3 separate regions of the Homo sapiens genome follow, and regions 2 and 3 are each linked to region 1. Evidence: promoter capture Hi-C in 16 types of primary human blood cells and fetal thymus (Javierre and others, 2016). All regions are on one chromosome and are shown on one strand. Each heading gives the region's core, a stretch centred on a gene start or on the middle of the fragment in contact. The rest is flanking DNA. Distances are from core to core; before and after follow the strand shown. Region 1 holds the start of VPS35 (VPS35 retromer complex component). Region 2 has its middle 48 kb from the start of DNAJA2-DT. Region 3 overlaps DNAJA2 (DnaJ heat shock protein family (Hsp40) member A2).

Evidence for each region. The method cuts DNA at HindIII sites, captures the fragments that hold promoters and counts their contacts. A CHiCAGO score of 5 or more calls a contact.
Region 2: a contact is called between a fragment that was not itself captured here and the fragment with the promoter of VPS35 in region 1, in 1 of 17 cell types (total B cells). The highest score is 5.5, in total B cells.
Region 3: a contact is called between a fragment that was not itself captured here and the fragment with the promoter of VPS35 in region 1, in 10 of 17 cell types (total CD8 T cells, naive CD8 T cells, naive B cells and 7 more). The highest score is 12.2, in total CD8 T cells.

What each region holds. Positions count from the first base shown.
Region 1 is chr16:46,686,677-46,691,073 of GRCh38, reverse strand. VPS35 (VPS35 retromer complex component) reads left to right here and starts at 1,896. Exons shown (of 17, transcript NM_018206.6): 1 at 1,896-1,943. The coding sequence starts at 1,941. It overlaps ORC6 (origin recognition complex subunit 6), which reads right to left and starts at 1,415. Exons shown (of 7, transcript NM_014321.4): 1 at 1,304-1,415; 2 at 1-83. The coding sequence starts at 1,368. RefSeq lists enhancers at 592-661, 712-791, 1,029-1,727, 1,728-2,425 and silencers at 1,132-1,431, 1,752-1,991, 2,142-2,191. The HindIII fragment of the contact is 9,040 bases long and covers 1-4,397 here.
Region 2 is chr16:47,019,564-47,023,960 of GRCh38, reverse strand. No RefSeq gene overlaps it. Among named protein-coding and RNA genes, the nearest start is that of DNAJA2-DT, 48 kb to the right of the region's middle. The HindIII fragment of the contact is 4,553 bases long and covers 237-4,397 here.
Region 3 is chr16:46,958,502-46,962,898 of GRCh38, reverse strand. It overlaps DNAJA2 (DnaJ heat shock protein family (Hsp40) member A2), which reads left to right. Exons shown (of 9, transcript NM_005880.4): 7 at 3,480-3,624; 8 at 3,769-3,896. Among named protein-coding and RNA genes, the nearest start is that of DNAJA2, 13 kb to the left of the region's middle. RefSeq lists an enhancer at 2,283-2,949. The HindIII fragment of the contact is 3,169 bases long and covers 724-3,892 here.

The DNA.
Region 1 (4,397 bases), core at 647-3,146:
TGACTGCACTGCTGGTCTCCGTGGTGCGTGCGGAGAGGCCGACACACTTCACCCGGGACAGGCGCAAGTACTCCTCTGCTTTCCTGGTTAAAAGGGCAGTGTGTTCGCTACAACTTATTCAGAAGTTTGCTCAACACGTTGGTAAACAATGAATACAGCCTGGTTAGCTTCACACTAAGCCTAACTCCTGTGGCTCGTTTATCTGGGGCTGGGAATGAAGGTCATATCCTCTGGTGAGAGGAAGACAGAACCAGCACTGACTCCAAACATCACTGTGCTCAAATGCTTTCAGGCAAAAGGAAGTTAAATTTTGACAAAAAAATTACCCTTCTTTCCTCCTTCCATTACTGGAACAAGCACGAACTATCAGAGACAGGCAGGTTAGACCAGGGTTCCTCCTTTCCTCCTATTTCCTTTAAATCAGTAGTTCTTAAACTTGATGGTAGGCGAAAATCACCTTGGGGACTTGCAAATTACTGGGTCCCAGGCCGAGTTACTGATCAGCAGGCTTGAGGTGGGACCCAAGAATTTGTATTTCTAACAAGTGACAAGATGATATGGCTGTTGCTGGTCCAGGAACCACATTTTGAGAACCACTGTTCTAAATGACTACCGAGTCCTGCAGGTTTGTCTTCAAATCTTTTAAGTGCTGTTTTCCTTGCCTTCCCTCGCCTGACTGCTCCACGTTTTAGCTACAATGGCTTTATTTCGAACCCCGGATCCCGCTTCCCATCTCAACGCTTTTACAGGAGCTGTCGCCCCTGCCTGGGCTGCTCTTGCCATATCTTTCCTCGCCTAGCATCTGCCATCAATCCGGCCTCAGCGGGAACGGCGCCTGCTTTTCCGAGTTTTGTTTGTTTCTTTGTGTTAAAGGCAGCCGCTAGGCCGCGCTCCACCCCAAGCCCAGTGGCTCAGGAGCATTGCCCGGTTAAGGTCTACACAGTCCTCGCCCTTACAGACAGCGGGGTCTGCGCCTCGTTGTCGGGTTCCCCGCTATAAACCCGACTGCAGTAGGCGTTGGCGGAATGAACGGAAAGTTCTCCCTGGCTCATTTTTCTACCCACGGACAGGGCTGGCTGTTCCCAGGGACGTGTGCCATCGCCGTTTGCTATCGCCCTTCTTGCCATCTCATTCAAGCTCACGGCCGAGAAGTTTTTCTTGAAGTAGGCCCTAAACCCCGCCCGGCCCCAGCGCTCCCCGTCACTCCCCCGCCGCCCGTCGCCTGGGAAGGGCGCGGGCCTCACCTGAGGGCCCAGGGCCGCGAGGCGGAAGCCCAGCCCTGGTCTTGCGCGGCCGAACTCACCTCAGCATGTCGGGCTCGGCGAGGCCCAGGCGCGGGGCTAGGCGCCCGATCAGCTCCGACCCCATGGCGCCGGCACTAAAGCGAACAATTCCCGTGAACGCCGCGGGTCAACGAAACCCGCGCGCAAAGGCTGCACCGGCCAGTGAGAGCCAGGCCCCACCCCCGGCGCATCTGGATTGGTTAGGACAGGACGTTGAGACCGTCCCACAAACCAATCAGGGTCTTCCTTTTGCGCATGCGCATCAATAGCGCAATCGCCAACGCAGATGCGGTGAACGTGGACTTGTCGGCTCCCCCTCCTTCCATTCCTTCTTGACAAACTCATCACACACTGCCTTTCCCTCCTGTTGTCTCCTGCCTGCCGCCGGGCGATCCCCACTGCCCTGCACTGCTCCGCCCACTCTCGCACGCTGTGGTGAGATTGGCTGGCGCTCAGGTCCGTCCATCTAGCGTTAAGTGACAGGGCCAATAAGCACGCGAGACTCGGGTTCCTAGAAGTAGGCCAATCAATGAGCCGCCTGTAGGGCCCGGGGGCGGGGCTAGAGAGGGCGGGGCTTGGAGGGGCCGCAGCGTCACATGACCGCGGGAGGCTACGCGCGGGGCGGGTGCTGCTTGCTGCAGGCTCTGGGGAGTCGCCATGGTGAGTGCTGAGGGGGCAGTGGCACCTGGGTCGACCCTCCTTGTAGCCCCTGCTCTCTCCCACCGCCCCGCACTCCAGCGAGTGGAGAAGGGGCCCCACAGACCGTTCGGGATTAAGACCAGCCCGATTTGGCCTGCGGGATAGGGGACAGCAGGAGGAAGGCCGCGGGCAGGCTGATCCGGGCCGGGGTGGGCGGCGGCTCTTGGCTGCGGCCGTTGCTGAGAGACGGGGCGGCCTCTCTGTGGGGTTGACTTGGCATGTAGGCTTTGGGGTCCATGAAGGCCTGCGGCCTCCTTTAAGTGGAATCGGTCACCTGCCTACCACGAGGGGACCGGTAGTCCTAGGTCTGAGCGTCTGGCCCCCGGGGCGCGTGGAGGCCCTGAGACTCGGAGGTGGCGCCGGGACCCGCCCAGATGTTGCGTTTCTACCTTTGTGCCTAGTTGTGCTCGGCCGTCCCCACGCCCTCCTGGAGGGGTCGCAGTGATTCCTTGGCCTTTCTTGGCCTCATACCCGCCTTCGGCTGCAGTGTTTGTCAGCGAGTTCTGGGGACCTGCTTACATGAATTTCCTGGAAGGACTCAGGCTGTCTTCTAATCCTGACGGTCGCAAAGGAGACTGATTGTTTACTTTAGCATTTGTGCATTGGGCGCACCTTGCCTCTTTTGTCTCGCCATTGATAAAATCCAAGTATTTGACTTGCTGGAAGCAGTACTTCTCCTTAGGGCCCGTCTATGACGGCAGCAAATCGTGGTGTGGCTGTTGGCCGGTAAACTTGAACTTCCTCAAAATGTGAATCTTTGTGTCTGGTTCCCACAAAGGCAAGTTGTCACTTGCATTTTATTAGCGTTTAACATAGCCTGCACTGTGTAAATAAATTTTTTGAGTATATACTGTATGTCCGCTTTAATTACCTTACTCACTCTGTGTAGATAGGCTTCTGTAAATCTGTAAGCCTGGAAACAGATTTCACTTTAAATGTCTTAATGCCAGAAAGGATTAAGTGTTTTACAAATACTATTTTCATATAACGTGTTGCCGTACAAGGTGATTTTGCCTGTTTCTCAGGATTTTTATAATTGGGAATTGATACAAGACCGGCGCAAAATTTAACTTTAGGATTTGTGTGTTTCCAGCGTTTATGGATTGACATTTATATTGTTTTGTAATGGAAAACACTTAATTGAGGATGTATTACACACTCCGATTCTTTGTTGGGTGAACCAGTTGGGAGCAATCAGCCAGACACACAGTCTTGTCCTCATGAATTTTATTGGGAAAGGAAACTTGAGTATTCGTTCTTTCACAGTCACTGTCTATAATTTAGGCAGCTCGCTTAGTCTTCTTGGTGTCGCACTTTTGCATCCGAAAGCAAGTGTTGGCGGCCCCTTTGGCCCTTCCCAGCCCTAAAATTCCAGAATCCACTTCAATTCATCAAACATCTTGTGTGCCTTCAGTGTCACGGACTGTGGCCCTGGGTACCAATGTCGAACTTAAGAGGCTACTGGGGGAGACACGCTTGTAGAACTTAACTGTAATACAGTGTGTGGATTGCTTTACTAACATTGTCAACTCAGTGCTTTGGGGTCATGGAGGGATAGTTTTGCCTGGGGATTTTGGGAAGGACTACAGGAAGTAACGTGAACTGAGACTATAAAGAGGGTGGAAAGAAATTCTCCAGGTGGAAAGAAAAGGTATTGCTAATAGATGAAGCCAAAACGTTCAGTGTGCTCCATCAGAGGATTCTTGGGGATATGTATTGGAAATGAAGTTAGAGCCGTTTGGTGTTCAAATTATATTTTGAAGTTGTCATGCCCTCATCATCCTTATTTCTCTCTACTTCAGTTGTCAATGTATGCCATGTCATCATTTTTAAAATAGTTCTTTCATTAACGTGATATTCTGTACCTTTGTTTGAAGAAATGAGCGTTACATTTGGTTTACATTGTACTGTCAGATTACATCTACAGCATATAAGCAGGGAGGTTGAACCACAATAGGTTTCTAACATAAGTGGAGATAATTATTTGTATCTAAACTGAATAATAATTATAGCACTTATTAAGTGCTTATTGCTAAGTAGTAGGCACGTTTTGAGCTTTGGTTTCATTTGTTCTTCATAACAGTGGTGTACTCTCATCTCTGTTTCATAGAAGAGGAAAGAAAAGCACATTGTTTCAGTGGAGAGTAGTTTTCCAAGTGATCAGTTCATGATCTTTGCTTTGCTCTGCACATTAGAACTGTAGACTTGAGAGGGCTGTTTGTGGGTCTCAAGCTAAAATGGGACTAATCACAAATGTTAATTTGATTCCCATTCTGTAGGGTTTCCATTTTCTTCTGATTCATGTAGCTGTGAAGTACGGTCATTTACAAATGGAAAACCACTTTCATGATTGAGGAAACATTGGTTAATTGGCTTGTGTTTAATGATAGCGTGCTCATATTATAACTGTTAAGG
Region 2 (4,397 bases), core at 1,264-3,763, 330 kb before region 1:
AGCTCCTGTTATTCTAAATGTGTGTATAATGTTTACATTTTTTCTTAATATAAAATTAATAGGTGCCCGTTGTGGAAAATATGACAACTCCATATAACAAAAAAGAAAGTAAAACTCTTGGTTACTTGATGTTCAATAAACCATAACCTTGGTCATGCATCTGCAGAATACTTAGAATTGATACGCAGAATCATGACTCTGAGGTGTCTCCTGAATCCTCAAAGAAAGACGAAGCTTGCCAAGGAGGCGGAGTGAGTGGACTCTGACATCAGGCTGCTCTGCCACTTGCTGCATAACTATAGCAGGCACATTAACCTCTCTGTATCTCAGTTTCCTCAGCTGTAAAACTGGAATAATAACAGTACCTACTTGAAAGATTGCAAAGATTATATGAGTGAATAAATATACATTCTGGGCACATAATAGGTGCTATATAAAGGTTTGCTATTTTCATAGAAATCATTTTAGGCCAGGTGTGGCGGTTCACGCCTGTAATCCCAGCACTTTGGGAGGCCAAGGCTGGCGGATCACCTGAGGTCAGGAGTTTGAGACCAGCCTGGCCAACATGGTGAAACCTCGTCTCTACTAAAAATACAAAAATTGGCCGGGCATGGTGGCGTGCGCCTGTAATCTCAGCTACTTGGGAGGCTGAGGCAGGAGAATCCCTTGAATCTGGGAGGCGGAGGTTGCAGTGGGCCAAGATCGAGCCACCACACTCTAGCCTGGGCGACAGAGTGAGACTCTGTCTCAAAAAAATAAATAAATAAAAGAAATTATTTTAACGTTATAGTTTAATTATTGGCAAATTGATCATACACAAAAGTCACATCTGGTAACTCATTTGTCTAGAAGAGTTGATGAACCAGGACACTGCTTTCCTTGACCATGTTGGAAAATAGGAAGCTCACGTCCTTGTTGTACAGGAACACAGTAGACAGGATGGTTAACATGAGTCTGAGCTCATTTTTAGCTTAATATAGACACAAACACCTAGATACAGAAATAATCATAGATTTGTGTGCATGCATGGGTTGGTATGCATGTACATTTTTCCCAGCTCTGCCCACTGAGCGGGCCTCAGTAGTGATGACCACAGCCAATATCAAGTCTTGTTTGCTAAACAGTGTTCTCCAATGAAAGGAACCAGGGCTCCTTGGAGAAATGGTTGATGCTAGAAGTAGAGCAAGGCAAATACAAGATAAGCCTGGAGCATCTTGCAATGCCAGAAAGTTTAAAAGAGCTTAAAAAACAAAAAAGATCGGGGCGTGTGGGCAGGTCACAGGGACCCCAGGGCCAACCGGAAAGAACTCCAACAGCCGAAGCTGGAATAATCTGAGCAACAAAATAATGATAGTACTGGACTATAACCTAAAATATAACATAAATACACTTGCGTCCATACACTGCGTCCCAGAAGATCATAATTTATTTATGACGGAAAAGATTAATAAATAGAAGAGACAAATCTTCCTCGAAGAAGAATGCATGTTGATGCTCCCCGCCAGGAAGTGGAGCTTAACCTCCATCTCACCCTATATGGGCCACACCTAGTATTTTCCTTCTTTTTTAAAAAAATAATTTTAAAATAGGCCAGGTACAGTAGCTCATACCTGTAATCCCAGCACTTTGGGAGGACAAGGCAGGTAGATCACTTGAGGTCAGGAGTTCAAGACCAGCCTGGCCAACATGGTGAAACCTCATCTCTACAAAAATACAAAAATTAGTCAGGTGTGGTGGTGGGCGCCTGTAATCCCAGCTACTTAGGAGGCTGAGGCATGAGAATCGCTTGAACCAGGAGGTGGAGGTTACAGTGAGCCATGATCACACCACTGTACTCTAGCCTGGACAACAAACTGAGACCTTGTCTCAAAAAAAAAAAAAAAAATTGGCCGGACACGGTGGCTCACGCCTGTAATCCCAGCACTTTGGGAGGCTGAGGTGGGCGGATCACAAGGTCAGGAGTTCAAGACCAGCCTGGCCAACATAGTGAAACCCCGTCTGTACCAAAAAAGTACAAAAATTAGCTGGGTGTGGTGGCACGCACCTTTAGTACCAGCTACTCAGGAGGCTGAGGCAGGAGAATCTCCTGAACCCAGGAGGCAGAGGTTGCAGTAAGCTGAGACAGCACCATTGCATTCTAGCTTGGGAGACAGAGCAAGATGCTGTCTCAAAAAAAAAATTGTAAAACAAGAATTTTTTTTTTTTTACATAAATAGAGAGCCGGGCAGGGTGGTTCACGCCTGTAATCCCAGCACTTTGGGAGGCCAAGGCGAGTGGATCTCCTGAAGTCAGGAGTTCAGGACCAGCCTGGCCAACATGGTAAAATCCTGTCTCTACTAAAAATACAGAAATTAGCCAAGTGTGGTGACAGGCGCCTGTACTCCAAGCTACTCGGGAGGCTGAGGCAGGAGAATCACTTGAACCCGGGAGGCGGAGGTTGCAGCAAGCCGAGATCATGCCATTGCACTCCAGCCTGGGTGACAACAGCAAAACTGCGTCTCAAATAAATAAATAGAGATGGGGTTTAACCATTTTGCCCAGGCTGGTCTTGAATTCCTGGGCTCAAGTGATCCACCCACCTTGGCCTCCCAAAGTGTGGGATTACAGGCATGAGCCATCATGTCCAGCCTTCTAAATTTTATTATTGTTAATTTTTGTAAAGAGGAGGTCTTGCTATGTTGCCCAGGCTGATCTCAAACTCCTGGTCTCAAGTGATTCTCCTGCCTTGGCCTCCTAAAGAGCCAGGATTACAGGCGTGAGCGACTGCACCCAGCCTATTTTGTAATTTTAATGAGAAGAGCCATGTTATTCCTCTCAAATGGTTCAAGGTCACATGGTCCTAATGTTTGCTATTTACAATCCCATTGTCTTCTAGGCTTTGGCGCTTTATTCATTATTTTATTTTTAAAAAGCAGAACGTGGAATCTAGGATCCCTTATTTTTATCATTTCTTGAAGAACAACAAAAATGATTGTGAAGCAACTGCAAGTTTAAGGTATGCTAAAAAAGACTAATAATAATCCCAGCACTTTGGGAAGCCAAGGCGATGGATCATGAGGTCAGGAGTTCAAGACCAGCCTGGCCAACATAGTGAAACCACATCTCTACTAAAAATACAAAAATTAGCCAGGCGCAGTGGCAGGTGCCTGTAATCCCGGCTACTCAGGAGGCTTAGGCAGGAGAATTGCTTGAACCCAGGAGGCAGAGGTTGCAGTAAGCCAAGATCGCGCCACTGCACTCTAGCCTGTGCAACAGAAGACTCCCATCTCAAAAAAAAAAAAAAAAAAAAAAGACTAATAATAAAGGCCGGGCATGGTGGCTCACACTTGTAATCCCAGCACTTTGGGAGGCTGAGGAGGATGGATTGCTTGAGGTCAGGAGTTCAAGACTAGCCTGACCAACATGGTGAAACCCCATCTCTACTGAAAATACAAAATTAGCCAGGTGTGGTGGTGCATGCTTGTAATCCCAGCTACTCGGAGACTGAGGCAGGAGAATCGCTTGAACCTGGGAGGCAGAGGTTACAGTGAGCTGAGATTGTGCCACTGCACTCCAGCCTGGGCTACAGAGCAAGATTTTGTCTCAAAAACAAACAAACAAATGACTAATAATAAATCAATAGAACATTTGCTAATTTGCCAAGGCTTGTTTTAAATTAAGTGTAAATTATAAAGAAAAAATATCCTGGCCGAGTGCAATGGCGCATGCCTATAATCCCAGCACTTTGGGAGGCCAAGGCGGGCAGATCACAAGGTCAGGAGATCGAGACCATCCTGGCTAACCCGGTGAAACCCCATCTCTACTAAAAATACAAAAACAAAATTAGCAGGGTGTGGTAGCAGGTGCCTGTAGTCCCAGCTACTCAGGAGGCTGAGGTAAGAGAATGGCGTGAACCTGGGAGGTGGAGCTTGCAGTGAGCCAAGATCGCACCACTGCACTCCAGCCTGGGCAACAGAGTGAGACTCTATGTCAAAAAAAAAAAAAAAAAGAATAAAAAGAAAAAATATCATATCCCACCAATACCCTTGGAGGCATTTCCTCTGCATTTAGTGCCTGGAATGCATTCTGATTTTCCAAGGCTCCTTCCGCAGCTCTTGTCATTCATGTCCTTTTCTAAAAGGCATTTTCTCCATGTGCAAATTTCTTTCAGCGCAAATGTTTGCTCTATGCTTATTCTCTGAAGAAAGATACCAACAGTGCCACCATTTGGAAGGAGTTTTAATTGCTCACTGGATTAAAAATAATCTCTCTACTGTCTGTATTTATTTGATATAAGCTGCCAAAACTTACCTATGGAGTCTCATGCTTTCACTTTTATAACAAAAGAAGTATAAACCAGAAAGTCTAAAATAAAAGTCACAACCTGGCAACCCACAGGCCAAATTGGGCACACAGGT
Region 3 (4,397 bases), core at 1,059-3,558, 270 kb before region 1:
GGTTTTAGGAATTTGGTAGTAATCCCTCACAAGGTCAGACTTGATCTCCTGGACAATCAGGGCATGCTAGTCAGCTTTCATGACTCAGCAAAGCTACAAATTATGTATTTTGGCTTTTTGTGGAAATTGCCAACCCTACAGATAGCAAACGTCTCCTCGGTTGTCAAAAAGTAAGAGTAGTTTTTAGAATTCTGCCTTTGGGTCTTGTAGAATGAAATATTTACAAGATTTGCTATTTGTTAACATTTTAGCTACTTCCTTGTTCCTTCAGTCTTGCTGCTGTGCACACCACCATACCAGGAATATGAGGGAGAAAGCTAGCAAGACAGCTAAATAATTGGAAATTCTGCTTGGAGGTTAGACTGTGTTGTAAAATGGTACAGACAGTGCCTGGGCATTTTCATTGATAGAATCCTTGGAGTCGTTTGGGGTTCGTTGTCAAATGATGTCTGGCAGTGCAGCAGCATGATAGGAAGTGAAGAAGGAATGCTTATTTGCAGAGGAAGGATGACTTTTTTTTGGTTTGAGGCATGTCAAACTGATGGTAAAACCTTTTTTATCCCTAAGTTTAGTTTTTAATGTTGCTGCATAATTAAATTGGGTTTTTAAAAGTAGATCATTGGATTTGGAGGCAAAGGACTTAAGGTCTGGGCCCCGTTTACTAGCTTTGGCTTCCCTGGACTTTTTGGATATTAAAGAGTCAAATGAGATTATGAATAAGCTTCTTTCTTGGGGCCTGTGGGGAGGTGTTGGGAAGTAACTCATCTCTGAAAATTGTTGGCAGCAGTGGAATTGGCATGGAATTTTCAACAGAAGGCAGATGTAGCTAGTTGTCTAAAGTAGAAAATAGAAGATGGTAAAGGTTAGAATGGAAGTTTGTCTCGTTCCTTCTTGGGAGTGCTGTATCATCTATAGTCATCATCCTGCCATGTCACTTGTCAGTGTGCCTGTTTGTGTGTCTCGGTGGTCTGGTTACCATAGTGCACTTGTACAGCATCAAACCACAGAACCTGGTGATGTTAGTCACGCCTCTATAACCTGTACTTTTGTTATTCAGAAATATGACTTCTAAGTGTTTTCTGGTCTAGTGCTTGGTGGTCCCTCCTCATTAATCTTGTTTTTCAGAAACTCTCTGGCATCCTTGCTTGTTTATTCTGTTTAAACTTTTAACATCAAATTGTTTAGCTTCCCCGCTCTGCTGCAACAACCATCCTGATAATCATAATCATTTTTTATTGAAATCACTTTCAGTTGAACTCTCCTGTACAAGAACGTGATGTGTATCTCTTCCTGTTCCCTTTTCTTTTTTTTTTTTTTGAGACAGTCTTGCCCTGTCACCCAGACTGGAGTGTAGTGGCGCAATTGTATTTTTAGTAGAGATGGGGTTTCATCATGTTGCCCAGGCTGGTCTCAAACTCCTGACCTCAAGTGATCTGCCTACCTCGGCCTCCCAAAGTGCTAGGATTATAGGTGTGAGCCACCGTGCCCTGCCCCACTTTTTATTTTTGTTTTTATTTTTGAAATGGGGTCTCACTCTGTCACCCAGGCTGGAGTGCAGTGGCGCGATCTCTGTTCACTGCAACCTCCACCTCCCGGGTTCAAGTGATTCTCCTGCCTCAGCCTCCCAAGTAGCTGGGACTACAGGCTCATGCCACCACACCCAGCTAGTTTTTGTATTTTTAGTAGAGACAGAATTTCGCCATGATGACCAGGACCTCAGGTGATCCACCTGCCTCAGCCTCCCAAAGTGCTGGGATTATAGGCATGAGCCACTGCATGCATCCTAAAATAGTATGACTTTAACAAAGGATATTTGGTAAGATGGTTCTTAGAACACTGGCATTTTACAGTATACTTAGCATTTATTTTAAATTTATTATTATTATGTTTAAGAGACAGGATGTCCTTCTGTCTCCCAGGCTGGAGTGCAGTGGCTGGATCATTAATGAGGAGGGACTGCCCCTGCAGGCTCCAAATCCTGGGCTCAAGGGATCGTCCTGCCTCAACTAGCCTAGTTTATGTTTTAATTTTTTGTCTCCCTATGTTGCTGTTTTGAACTGGCCTCCCAAAGCTCTGACCCTATATTTAGCTTTTTTAAATTTTTTTATTTTTTTCTTATTGAGATGGAGTCTCGCTGTGTCGCCCAGGCTGGAGTGCAGTGGTGTGATCTTGGTTCACTGCAGCCTCCGCCTCCCAGGTTCAAGTGATTCTCCTGCCGCAGCCTCCTAAGTAGCTGGGACTACAGGCGCGTGCCACCACACCTGGCTAATTTTTGTATTTTTAGTAGAGATGGGGTTTCACCATATTGGCCAGGCTGGTCTTGAACTCCTGACCTTGTGATCCGCCTGCCTTGGCCTCCCAAAGTGCTGGGATTACAGGTGTGAGCCACTGCACCTGGCCTACTTAGCATTTTTAATGCGTTGAAAAATCCTGCATTAAAAAAACTATTGGTCCCATTGTGAGGAACACTTGAATATATGTGCATACATAACATACCTTCTTGGATCTCAAACTTTAGCACACACACAAGAATTGCCTGGAGGGCTTGTTAGGACTACAGATGCTGGATCTTGCCTGCCTTGTTTCTGGCAGGAATGGAAGTGGGGCCCAAGAATATGTGTTCCTAACAAGTTTCCTGAAGCTGCTGGTCCAGAACCACACTTAGAGAATCATTGGTTAAGGTAATGGTTTAACTTTGTTTAATGAGTAAATTTAGGAGAGTAACATAGGAAAAGAACCTGTCTACCAGATTTTCTATAAGTGAACCGGCCAGGATTGTTCTTTACAAGAAGAGTGACCATTGTAAAATCTAAGCAAAAATTGCAGGTTGGGCGTGTGAAGTTGGATGTATTTTTCCTACACATTGAAGGCTCAGAAACATTCTTTGTGCTTATTCTCAATACCTTTTGCATTACCTAGTCCATAGGCTTATAGTGTAATATTGAATGAGCCAGTTTTGCATTTTAGTGAGATGTGAGACTTGTTGGTATGTGTGTGAAGCACGGAATTGAGCCACTTGACTTTGCTGGCTGGGTGTTAACTGGTTGATGTTGGGTTTTATGTTGATCTTGGACCCTCCCCCCTTCCCTGTTACGATCATGTCTGGGGAGCACTCCAGGGTGAGCCTGTTCTGTAGGAGCCCTCTGGGCATTCTGTACCTTTTTCACCAGAGGCAGAGTCTGAAAGTGGGCAATAGTTGCAGAATATACCTGGCACTGTTTTGAGGGCCTCAGTTCTGTTGCTCTTATATATGCCATTGTTTACCAGTTCCAGTACACCTTCCTCATGGAAGTTTCTCACATACTACTTGGGAATAGCTAGCTTTCCTAATGCGGTTTAGGGCACTAGGGACAGTGGCACTTTGGATTTGCAGTGAGTGGTAGAAATAAGGTTTTGAAATTAAGTCAAGGAACATAATGCTGCAGGGTGTACCTCCATAATTTTTAAGAAAATGTATTTCTTTTGTGCTTTATTTATAGGTATTTCAGAGAGATGGGAATGATTTGCACATGACATATAAAATAGGACTTGTTGAAGCTCTATGTGGATTTCAGTTCACATTTAAGCACCTTGATGGACGTCAGATTGTGGTGAAATACCCCCCTGGCAAAGTAATTGAACCAGGTAAATCTTGATTTTGTCCGATTCTGGTTTTCAAGTATTTTTGAAAAAAATTACAATTTGTAATTTTTTTATACTGCATAACTCTAAAAAAAATTGAACACCTCTTTTGGGTAAAATTATTAATCATTTCCTCTTAAATAATAGGGTGTGTTCGTGTAGTTCGAGGTGAAGGGATGCCGCAGTATCGTAATCCCTTTGAAAAAGGTGATCTTTACATAAAGTTTGATGTGCAGTTTCCTGAAAACAACTGGATCAACCCAGACAAGCTTTCTGTAAGTGTTCTTTAAATTAAACAACAGTTGACTTCCAAGTTTGGAGTTCGGTTTTTGGTTTTTTAGACAGGGTCTCTGTCACCCAGGCTGGGGTGTAGTGGTGTGATCGTGGCTCACTGCAGCCTCGACCTCCTGGGCTGAAGCGATCCTCTCACCTCAGCCCCCAAGGAGCTGGGACTACAGGTGTGTGTTGCCATGCCTGGCTAATTTAAAAAAAATTTTTTGAGACACAGTCTCACTGTGTCACCCAAGCTGGAGTGCAGTGGTGTAGTCTCGGCTCACTGTACCCCCCGCCTCCCAGGTTCAAGTGATTCTCATGCCTTAGCCACCCAAGTAGCTGGGATTACAGGCATGAGCCACGATGCCTGGTAAGTTTGTTGTTGTTGTTGTTTGTTTGTTTATGGGGTTTTTTTGTTTGTTTGTTTTTGTTTTTTTTTTTGAGATGGAGTCTTGCTCTGTCACCCAGGCTTGAGTGCAGTGGCACGATCTCAGCTCACTGCA